Linked DNA regions of Homo sapiens: regions 2, 3 and 4 are each linked to region 1. Evidence: promoter capture Hi-C in 16 types of primary human blood cells and fetal thymus (Javierre and others, 2016). All regions are on one chromosome and are shown on one strand. Each heading gives the region's core, a stretch centred on a gene start or on the middle of the fragment in contact. The rest is flanking DNA. Distances are from core to core; before and after follow the strand shown. Region 1 holds the start of SLC1A3-AS1 (SLC1A3 antisense RNA 1). Region 2 has its middle 120 kb from the start of RANBP3L. Region 3 overlaps NIPBL (NIPBL cohesin loading factor). Region 4 overlaps NIPBL (NIPBL cohesin loading factor).

The links. The method cuts DNA at HindIII sites, captures the fragments that hold promoters and counts their contacts. A CHiCAGO score of 5 or more calls a contact.
Region 2: a fragment that was not itself captured here is called in contact with the fragment with the promoter of SLC1A3-AS1 in region 1 in 4 of 17 cell types (M0 macrophages, M1 macrophages, monocytes and 1 more); the score reaches 7.5 in M0 macrophages.
Region 3: a fragment that was not itself captured here is called in contact with the fragment with the promoter of SLC1A3-AS1 in region 1 in 6 of 17 cell types (megakaryocytes, naive B cells, erythroblasts and 3 more); the score reaches 9.1 in megakaryocytes.
Region 4: a fragment that was not itself captured here is called in contact with the fragment with the promoter of SLC1A3-AS1 in region 1 in 14 of 17 cell types (megakaryocytes, naive B cells, total B cells and 11 more); the score reaches 14.1 in megakaryocytes.

The regions. Positions count from the first base shown.
Region 1 is chr5:36,723,855-36,726,469 of GRCh38, reverse strand. It overlaps SLC1A3-AS1 (SLC1A3 antisense RNA 1), which reads left to right and starts at 1,282. Exons shown (of 2, transcript XR_007058736.1): 1 at 1,282-1,356. RefSeq lists enhancers at 2,285-2,554, 2,595-2,615. The HindIII fragment of the contact is 5,384 bases long and covers 1-1,898 here.
Region 2 is chr5:36,419,792-36,422,406 of GRCh38, reverse strand. No RefSeq gene overlaps it. Among named protein-coding and RNA genes, the nearest start is that of RANBP3L, 120 kb to the right of the region's middle. RefSeq lists a silencer at 2,606-2,615. The HindIII fragment of the contact is 1,699 bases long and covers 481-2,179 here.
Region 3 is chr5:37,015,911-37,018,525 of GRCh38, reverse strand. NIPBL (NIPBL cohesin loading factor) reads right to left here. Exons shown (of 47, transcript NM_133433.4): 23 at 2,356-2,488; 24 at 1,364-1,507. Among named protein-coding and RNA genes, the nearest start is that of NIPBL, 140 kb to the right of the region's middle. The HindIII fragment of the contact is 1,218 bases long and covers 673-1,890 here.
Region 4 is chr5:36,995,448-36,998,062 of GRCh38, reverse strand. It overlaps NIPBL (NIPBL cohesin loading factor), which reads right to left. Exons shown (of 47, transcript NM_133433.4): 11 at 2,259-2,441. Among named protein-coding and RNA genes, the nearest start is that of NIPBL, 120 kb to the right of the region's middle. The HindIII fragment of the contact is 1,808 bases long and covers 462-2,269 here.

The DNA of each region.
Region 1 (2,615 bases), core at 33-2,532:
AACCATTCTGAAGCATTTCAAAAGACATCCAGTTTCTCCTCTGTATACTGCAAAATCTTGGGCTTAGGTTCTGGCATTTAGTCTATGACAAATGATTGCTGGCAAAAGTTGAATGAAGCAGTTAAGAGTATGGGTTTGCAGTAAGATCCAGGTTCAAATTTACACCTTTCCATGTACTACCTGTGTGACTTTGGTGAAATTATCTTCTCCAGGCCTTAGGGTGAAATGTATGTGAGAATGCATGAAGCCTGCCACGTGGTTAATATTAAGAGTGATAACTCATATTATCATTGATGGAGGTGAATGAAAGAAATGGAGTAACACGCTTTTAAAACACAGTTTCCCCTCCATTATCATTTCAACCACTTTAGATGAAAATATTGAGGGATACATCCACAATTTCTAGTTAATTAAAAAATATCAGGAGGTCTTAGTAGATTCTAGATTTTTCCTTCAATGAAATGAGTTGTTAAATAAAAGGCCTCCATAAGTACAGGGTCTTGTCGTTGGGCTCTATCTTATGAGCGGTGGATCTGCCTCCCAGGAAGGTAGGCAGACACCAGTGAGGCATCTGGTGCTTGGGATGCAGCGAGTGGAGCCAAGCAGAGAATGATCAGATCCGTTTGCCTGGAATTTCTGCATTTGCTGCCCCAAACATCTGGAGCCAGGCTACCCAGTGCAGATGGAAAATAGCAAAATGCAAATTCCCTGGGTTCAGCTGAGGGAAGCCAAGGCAGACAGAGTCTGAGAAGGCGGATGAAAGGTGAGCCAAAACAAAAGCCCTGGCGGGTGGTGGGGCAGCGTTTTATCTAGAGCCTACGGCCCCCGGTAAGGACAGGAGATGAGAGAAGGGACCTTAGAGCTACTTGGGCCACCTTCATGTTCGTACTCATCCCCCTCCTTAACAGCCTGAAAGGGAGCCTGCTGGGCTTACGGCAGCCTCCCTGTCCTCTTCCTGATGCCATGCCTGCTCCATTGCTTTGCTTCTTCTGGATCCTGTTTCGCCCTCTCCCTCAAGAAGGAGATCCTGAAATAGATCCTGAGTCAATGACTCAGGTGCAAGTGCTTTATTAAAGAAAGGCTCCCAGAAGAAATCTACTTGCACCCGAATCATTGACTCAGGATCTCCTTCTGGGAGAATCCAAGCCAAGACAAGACAGACAACCCAACCAACTGAGCTGCTCACAGCTTCAACTGCTACAACCCTGGAAAGGATTCTGATTGGCTAGCTAAGGGTCACATGCCCAAATGGGCCTTTGATTGGCAGCTGTTGCTTCCTTCCTACTCCCTCCCACACACCCAGGAGCTCCAGCCTGTTATGGGATGGGCATCCTACCAGGAACCAAGGATGCTAAGGTAAGCAGTCCTTGCCCTCATAGGTTTACTTATACTTAAGGGGAGAGAACCGTTAGTCAAATCACCCCACATACAGATCTTTACACACTATGAAGGACAAGCACAGGGTGCAGTCAGTGGGAGGGGCCCAGAACGGGAAGTGCCATGCTGGCTGCTGCTGTGTGGAATGGGCTGTAAAGAGAGCAAGAGTGAAAGCCACAGCAGGGGAGCTGGTCAGAGATGGCAGTGGCTTTATTAGAGTGGTGGCCCTGGAGTTGGAGACAGGTGGGAAAAACTCAAGAGCCCTCTAAGGAACCGACCCATGGCAGTCCATCGCCACCAAGTCCCTCTTACCACTCTAGGTTTAAAGAAACCCAAAAAACAAAACTACGTTGCAACTGCACTGCTACACCAGGAAACCTAAGGGGGAACAAAAGAAAACTTAGTAGTGCCCTCTAGGCTGAAGATTTGACCTATTATTTACTAACCTTTCCCTCCCTCTTCCTTATTTTCAACAAATCTCCTGCCATCCATTTTGAATTCTTCTCTAAATAGAGAAAGCTTTCTTTCTCAGCTTCATTTAAATGTCCACCATGGTATTTACCCATGTTTTCTTGATTTTTATTTCTTTTTGGGGCGGGTATCTAAAAGATAATCTGATCCCTGTTCCTGATTCTGTAGGTGACAGAGAGAAGTGGTTTTCTCATTTTTTTGTGTGTGAAATTATTCGCATATGAGGAAAAGATAGCTCAAAAATAGAAGCTCTTTCATTATCTCTCCACAATGTAGTGTGGCCCCAAGTGACTATTTTGTGGAGACACGGTAATTTGGGGTGGCTAAATCATTACCCCGAGGTGTGTCAGATGCTGCCAAGACCTCCTTCATTCATGTGGCCAAGACTGTGGGCTTCCTGGCTGGGGAGGCAGAGGCCCTGCTCTTCTGCTGCTAACCTTGGGGTCAGCGAGCCCTGATCCACACTTCCTCTGGGCAACATCAATGGGGCTGCTGAACATATTGAGCCAGACTTGTTTCCAAGAGATAGAAGGAACTAGAGCATTGGGGAAAGTCCCAAGTAACTCTAGCCCTCAGCCACCTGCTGTGGCTGAAGATGAAGTCTCTGCAGCTTCAAGAATCCAACTGGCTGGTGCACATTGTTCTCATTGGCTAGATCATTCCTCCATGTAGCACTTCACTAAACTCATTAACAAATATTTACAAATGACATTGCTTTTTGGGGTCATGTATATTTCAGTCTTCAGAATCCATCAGGCACTCAAATC
Region 2 (2,615 bases), core at 81-2,580, 300 kb after region 1:
ATTCTAAATCCAGGGCAGAAACAAAACTGAGATTCAGGCCCTAGCTGCAAAGGTGCTAGGAAAGTGAGTATCTGGCATATTTGCTCTGTAAGTGGAAGGTGTTTGTGCCCTAATATCAGATGCCAGGGCCATGAATATCCTCTACAAGACTGTTTGGTTATTACTCTCTCAAGGAATAGAAGATTGAAAAATATCTTTAATGTGCAGCCGCTAAGCACTGTTAAATGTTGTCTCTGTGACAGTGACACAAGAAAAAATAAGTGAAACTTAGAATGTGTATAAAGGCAAGCGTTGGACAGTCATGTATAGAAATGAATAGATGGACATCAGGGAGCCTGTGAATGCTCTGAAAGTTTATATTAAATTACGTGTATTTCAAAGACATCTGTTGTTCAAAGAACTTTAGATCCTAGATCTAGATTCTGGTCTAAACCATCTCTACATAGAATAGGCCAATAAGCGAAGTGTCAGAGACAAGCTTATTCAAAGAGGCACAAGGTACCCTAGTAGAGGAAGGCCCAGAACTCACACCTCTAAAATTTGTCTACTGCACATCTTCTGAGTACAAGGCATACTTTAAGATGTGTCTGTCTTAGAACAACCATGTCAATTTGCACCAAAATTATCACATATTTAATGTAAATGCAGAAGCCTATTCCCAGGCTTCAATTTTAGCTTTGCTTTTTATTAGGTTGTCTTGTATTGATACGAATCTTACTTGCTTTCCTTACATTGCCTACCGGTGATGTAGACACATCATCTAAAAGAAGGAGGGAGATGAATCAAGCCAGAAGTTAGAAGCCCCCAGGTAAGGTAACCCCAGCAACACTAGCCATGTGCTGGCTCCTAAAGGGCTCTCCCAGTTGAAAGCATGTGCATAGCTATATAGGTCTTATTTAGAGGACTTTGCTTCCTGTGCTGAAACCACACCACCTCTCATAGCAAGTGGACTACCAGTAAGATTGCTAATTGCATTGTCCAGCCATTTGTCCAATAGTCCAGGTGTTATAAACTCAAATGTCTATTAGGGTGCCAAACAAGTAACACAAGTGAAGCTCTCTAAGGTAAGACAGTTGAAAGTGGAAGGGAACTGTAGTAAACTGAAAGCAGCTGCTAGAAAAAATAGATGCGTACCTTACTTTTTACACCAAAATAAATTCAGGGAATCAATTTAATCAATTTATATCATCAATCAATTACATATCTATCAAAGCAACAACTAAGTCTTTTTTAAGACCTACGAAATGAAGATATCCACAAGTAGATAAAGCCATGTTACATTTTCTTTATTTTTTTTGAGATGGAGTCTCATTCTGTTGCCAGGCTGGAGTGCAGTGGTGCGATCTCGGCTCACTGCAACCTCTGACTCCCTGGTTCAAGAGATTTTCCTGCCTCAGCCTCCCAAGTAGCTGGGATTACAGGCACGTGCCACCATGCCCAGCTAATTTTTGTATTTTTAGTAGAGACGGGGTTTCACCATGTTGGCCAGGATGGTCTCAATCTCCTGACCTCGTGATCCACCCGCTTCGGCCTCCCAAAGTGCTGGAATTAGAGGCATGAGCCACCGCGCCCGGCCCCATGTTACATTTTCTTACTGAGATACATGTAAAAGGATTGGCTGCCATACTCCAAGTGGTCCAACAGAAGGCAGGAAAAATGTCCAGCCCCTTAGAATAGATGAAACAAATTTCAAAGCAATGAGGGGCTGACTTGACTGATGTATGGATCAGGCAGGACCATCATTAAGGCACAATGTCATGATTTTATTGGAATTTTTTTTCTTAGTGAACACAAAATAATGGTGCATCTTGCAATTGATGGTGTCTTAGAAATACTGCATATGTTTTTGTAGTGTGTGGATGCAATACCTTTGAAAGGACACATAAGAATGGTTGGAGCAGTTGCATCTGGGGAACTGGGGAACAGTGTGTATAGACCATTTCATATCTTTTAGATTTTATGCCAAACACAAGGACCATCTATTTAAAAACCTGATACAAATAATAATAATAAAAATAAAATGGTAGCTTTTTATATGCTAATGGAGAATGAAATCTAAAATATACTATAAAAATTTTTAAGTACATACATAAATAGGCAGCACTGCTTAGCTCCAATTTAATTTGCAATGCAGGAATGTAGAGCCAGTGTGCCCAGATCTCATTTTTCAAGAAAAGCTTGAACTCTAGATTTTGTATGAAATCTCCTAATTTTTAAGGTTGACAAGCAATTCAAATTCTTTCAAACATCATTAGGGATAACAAAACCCATCTGTGGGTGGGCTGGGGCCCCGGACTGTCACTTTGGGACATTCACATTGTTCCTGATGGTGGCCCTGTTGCATACACTTATGCAGGTTGTTTGGGGGTGTCTGCCAACAGGACAAGTCAGAAATGAAATACAGACCTGTGCTTTTTTTCACTGAGATATGGACTGTGGCACAGAGCTGCGTGATCCTGGAGCAAAGGACACAAGCGTTACAGTCTGCTCACCAAGCACTGCACCAAACTCACTAAGTTTTCTCAAAAGGGGTGTCTTCTTCTAATTCAAGAAAAGGTGGTCTGTAGGTTTGTGATGGCTTTGCCTGATGAAGAAGTTCAGGAACCCTAGTTTTT
Region 3 (2,615 bases), core at 32-2,531, 290 kb before region 1:
ACTGATCCCAGGGCAGGGGTAGGGAAGGTAAAAGATCTGCCTGAAATACCTTTTTGTTCTAGAAAGCCCTCAAATTATGATGGGAATATATCAAAATGATATAAAAGCCAGCTTCAAAGGGTTCTCATTGATCAAATCTAGGACGATTTGAGCATTAAAATAATGATGGCAACAAATTATAATTTACCAGAGTAGGTATTGTATTACATCAGATGTTAATATTGTATTAATGATAATTTTTTGCTTTTGATAATTGTACTATAGATATTTAAGTGAGAGCTCTTGTTTGCAGAAATATACACTAAGCAGTGGTTCCCAAGTTTCAGCATTCATTCATTCATTAGAATCACCTGGAGGGCTTGTTAAACCAAGAGTTTTTGATTCAGTAGGTCCAGGGAGGGTCCTAAGAATTTGTACTTTTGTTAGAAATGTACTTGTTAGTTCCCAGATGATTTCAATGTTGGTGTTACTTGTCAAGGGGATCATACTTGGAAAATCACTGCATTAGAGAATTCAGGGGTAATGAGGGAATCATGTCTGCAACTTAACTTCAAGTGGTTCGAAACAAAATTTAAAAAAAAATGCATATACAGACACACATACATCTATATTTTGAAAGATGAGAAAGGAAATTTTGTAAATTGTCAATAATTGAGGAATTTGCAAGAAGCTTTTATGGGAGTTCTTTGTACTATTCCTACAATTTTTCTCTAAGGTTGAGATTATTTCAAAACACGAACTATAGCTAAAAAAAAATTAGAGGCATTTCTACCAACATGGATATGATTACGAGCATAAAAAAAGACTAGAAAAAAATGAAAACAGAAGTTGTATATAGTAGGATTAGAAATCATTTCTTCACCAGTTTTCTCAAGTAACTTTATTACTACCACTTCATCCACATTAAAAAAAAAAAAGCAATAAAACACTTTTTCCCCCAAGATGAAAACTCTCTAATGTAATAAAGTATAAAAAAGCTCTCCTCACACCTCCTTGGTATGAGAAGATACAAAACATTCAAAAGTACAAAACAATCTTATTGTGTATGCTAAATCACCATTCAGTAAATTAAAAACTTAAATAAAATTTATGTTAAATCAAATATAAAACAGCATTATACATTATTAAGAGTACTTCACAAAAAGAAAGTAAATGATTTATATGAACCATTCAGAAGTCCCTGTTAGACTAAATAATTCATTCTCAGGTCTTAAAATTTCTCACTGGGGCTTTGAAAAGCCCACTTTTAGAAGTAAAAATCTTATTTTGAATCCACACAAAATGAAATGCAAAACTAATGTAAGGACATGCAAAGAAAATAACTATTATTCATTCCCATAATTTTAATCTTTTATCTTAGTACCTGTTTTAAAATGCGTTCTATAGATCCTTGATCCATTTTGCTTGTAACAGCATCTTTTCTTAGCCGTGCAGCAACAGTTCCAAGGTAATCAAGAGATGCCACTCTTAAAGCCATCTCTGTTGACTTGTTACTGAACTGATGAACCTAAATATCAAAATAGTTTTTGATTGAATAGATTTATAACAATATATTTTAAATAGCAATTTATCATATAAATTCCCAATCTAAATTGTATAATTTAAAATTTAAACTTTTTTTTTTCCTGTGATATTGTCCCATAAAGTCATTTTTGCCTTTTGATTTTCTGGAATCTGAACATTTTCATGTGACTAAAAAAATTACAGATTAAACTTCCTTAAGAACAACACAACTCATTAAATATGCAGGCTCAACTGTATTATTTGCACAAAATGTGGTATTACTGAGTAAGAATTTCTTAGGGTGGAATTCTGATGCCTATGAAAAGTTATTATAGTTTCCGAATAATATTAACATATTTTCCCATTCACAAAAAGGTCCCAGAAGCTTTGTAACAATGTGTATTGTGCAAGTTCAAATGTAGTTTAAAAATAGAGTCACAACATTTCTTTGCATTTACCTACTGTGTTACATGACGACTACAAAATGCCATACATTTGTAGAAATACTCTTAAAGATGATAAGGAGTCTATATTAATCATTTTCTTGCTTTGAAATGAGTAACTTATGACTCAGTGTTGAGATGCTTTTAACAATATAACATTTCCAAAAAAAAAAAAATTGTTAAAGCACTGTTATCTTATGTAATGAAATGAAAGCACCAAACTTCACAACATTTGAAAATTTTCTACAAGGTACTGACAATATTGTGTACAGTTATGCACATGCAAAAAGAGATGCAATGTTCATATTTCCTTACACATTTTTAAAGAATTCATCATCTGTGAATCAGAGTACATCCTCATTATGTTGTCTTCTAGTAATCTAATAATCTTTAAATGCTATACTCTTACCAACAGTCTCCCTAACAAACTAAGGAGTAGTTCAGCAGCTGGCCATTCAGGCTTATTGACTGTTGAAAGAAGGTCTTGAACAAAATTTTCAAACAGTGGTCTGTAATCTTCTTCACCTTGCTTACTACCACATCTGTTCAAAGGCAAATAATGAAAAGGATGTCAATTTAGGTGACACATGTCAGTCATCTGTCTACCAACATGATTGAAATTGTTAGCTAAGTTTTCTTTTTTCTATGTTTAGTAACAAAATATATAAA
Region 4 (2,615 bases), core at 116-2,615, 270 kb before region 1:
ATTTTCCCCAGGCACCCAGTGACCTTATATTTGTGCTATGGCCATCCAAATCTGTGTACCCCAACTTTCAAAATTATCCTTCAACATTTTCCCCTAACCTTCAACAAAACTATTTCCTTGGTTTTAGATTTTGAGAAACCAATTTGATTAAACTGCTAAGTTTCAAAAATTTTTTTTTCTCTCTCTCAGCAGCATAATGCTTGCAACTTAACGTTCTCATAATAGTTTCACATTTTGTATTGTGCTATATTTTCAATACACTGTTTCTGTTGTGGTGTGACCATTTGGTTGTTTATGTGAACAATCATTTGGACTTCTTTCACCATTCAAATCGGTGCCTCCAGTGTCCACTTTTCTATAGTTACTTGTATAGAAATAAGTGAAGAAAAACAGGAAGCTACTCCTGACATCTCTTTAAAAATCCAGAGAAACTTTCCTTTCTTCTAGCAGTGTGTGAAGCTTAGGTTCTTTAAAATAAATATTACCTTTCGATATAGTTGGGCATAGATATAACAGGGTCCATGGCTTTATAACGAAGCTATGTGCCTCCATAAGATGAGACAATAGCTTTCATGATAGAAAGCAAGGGGAAAAGAATGGTGGCTGCATTGGTGACAAACATGAGGGATGTGTGGCTCTACTCTCCACTATTTTACACTTGGTGGAAATTTTTGATTATGTTATCCTTTCCACTTAACTGTGAGACAGCTTCAGAAATCTTTGCAATTTAGTAATGGAGGCAGTCACTTTCAGTCAACTGGATTTGAAATGTCATTTGAAATCAAACTGGAATTCAGGGACTCCTCCTTCTCGGCTGTTCTAGATATGGGTGATATGTTTATTAGAGGGAAAGAGGCAGAGTGGTAAGGCATGTATATTAAAGGGAATGAGTTCCTGGGCCCCATGTTTCTTTTATCTTCTCATCTTCCAGAGCTAACCACGTCCCCATATGACCAAAATATCTGATTGTAATAAAAAAAATTAACTTTAGCCATTTTAATATACTGTGTGTCAATACATTTCATAATACAATTATAACAATTATACATGATTAAATGTTAAGTTTGCTGTATATTTTATTTCAATTTTAAAACTTTTTTCAGATTTGTTCAGTATTCATAGTCTACTGCTCATAGCTCAAGAGCTCACAATTAAAAAAAAATCAGTAAATTAACATTAAAAACTTTGGAGGAGGTGAAGGGCTTCCATCAGCAATATACATTTAAAAATGGCAGCATGCATCTGTCCTTCCTGCCCTTGCTTGTCACACCTCAATCTATGGACACTAGGTGGAAAAAGTAGAACACTGGTGGTCTTCCCACTTCTTTTGGTCATTATGACTAAGTCAGTTGGCACACAAGTGAAGATCTCCCATAGTCTGTTTCCACTGAATGCCGTTTAAGTCAAACAAGGTTGCTGACCCCTCTTGGCTAGGCTCAATTCTCTTGCTCCAGAAGAAGGAAGATAGGGATAAAAGAGAAGAACTTTTTCAGTGGACCAGTAGGAAGACAGGCGAGGTATAGCAAGTCTAGTGCAAAGACAGGTGATCACAGTGTTGTAGAGAGGTAGCTGTGTAGTGAAGAAGCCAGCTCTGGAAAACAGTGAAACAAGGGAGGAATTCCAGGACACAGCTGGGCAAAAAGGAGAAGCCAGGTCCAAACCACACAGATAATCTGCAATGTGGCTAATCCATTCATAATTTAGTGATAGTATGGTTTTAAATATTTCTTCATCTGGCTATCTCCTACGTGTCCTTCAAGACTCAACTCAAGTGTCACCTCTTCCAGTAAGCATTCCCTGAGCCCCCACTCTGATTTTGATGCCAATCCAATGTGTTCCCATAGCACCCTGGATTTACTGTTATCATTGTACTTTTATCAGCATACTGCAATTATTTATTTACATATTTCCCCCATTAGACTGAAGGCTCTTTGAAGACAGGGGCCATATCTTATTTGCATTTTTACTCTCAGTGTCTAGCATATAATAGGAGCTCAATAAATGTTTGCTGAATGCATACAGACACATACCTACCTGTGTTTTAAAATTAATTGTAGCTTATTTAATATTTTTTTCTTGGTGCCAACTGATCTCATCTTTCACGCATTTTTAAAGTATAGAGAAAAAAACTTACTATACTGTGTTATTAAGAATTAAGGTGACTGTGCTTTTGCTAAACCCCCAAATTATAAATGAGAAAAACACATCAACCTGCTTTTAAACTCTAAAATAATAACAAAGAGTTCTGTGATACTTACATTCAAAAGCTTCATCACTATCATTATCTTCATCTGAACTGATTTCAGCATATTTTGGCTTTTCATTAACTGTGCTACGCTTGCGTTTGTTCATTTTCACACGTTCACAAAGTGGCATGGTGGACTCAATTTCTGCCAGGAGTTCAGGGGGTAATTCTTTTAACACTGATTGATCTATACTACCTATTAATGAAAGGTAAATTTAAAAAAAAAATGTAAATCTGAAGATAAAAGGAAAATTTTAACTAAGTTAGCATAATAAAAATATTAGTATTTGTTTTCTAAATCAACTGTTTATTTTAATAAAACACAACTATAATACTCTTAACCCTAAAGTGACAATATAGTTAATATATA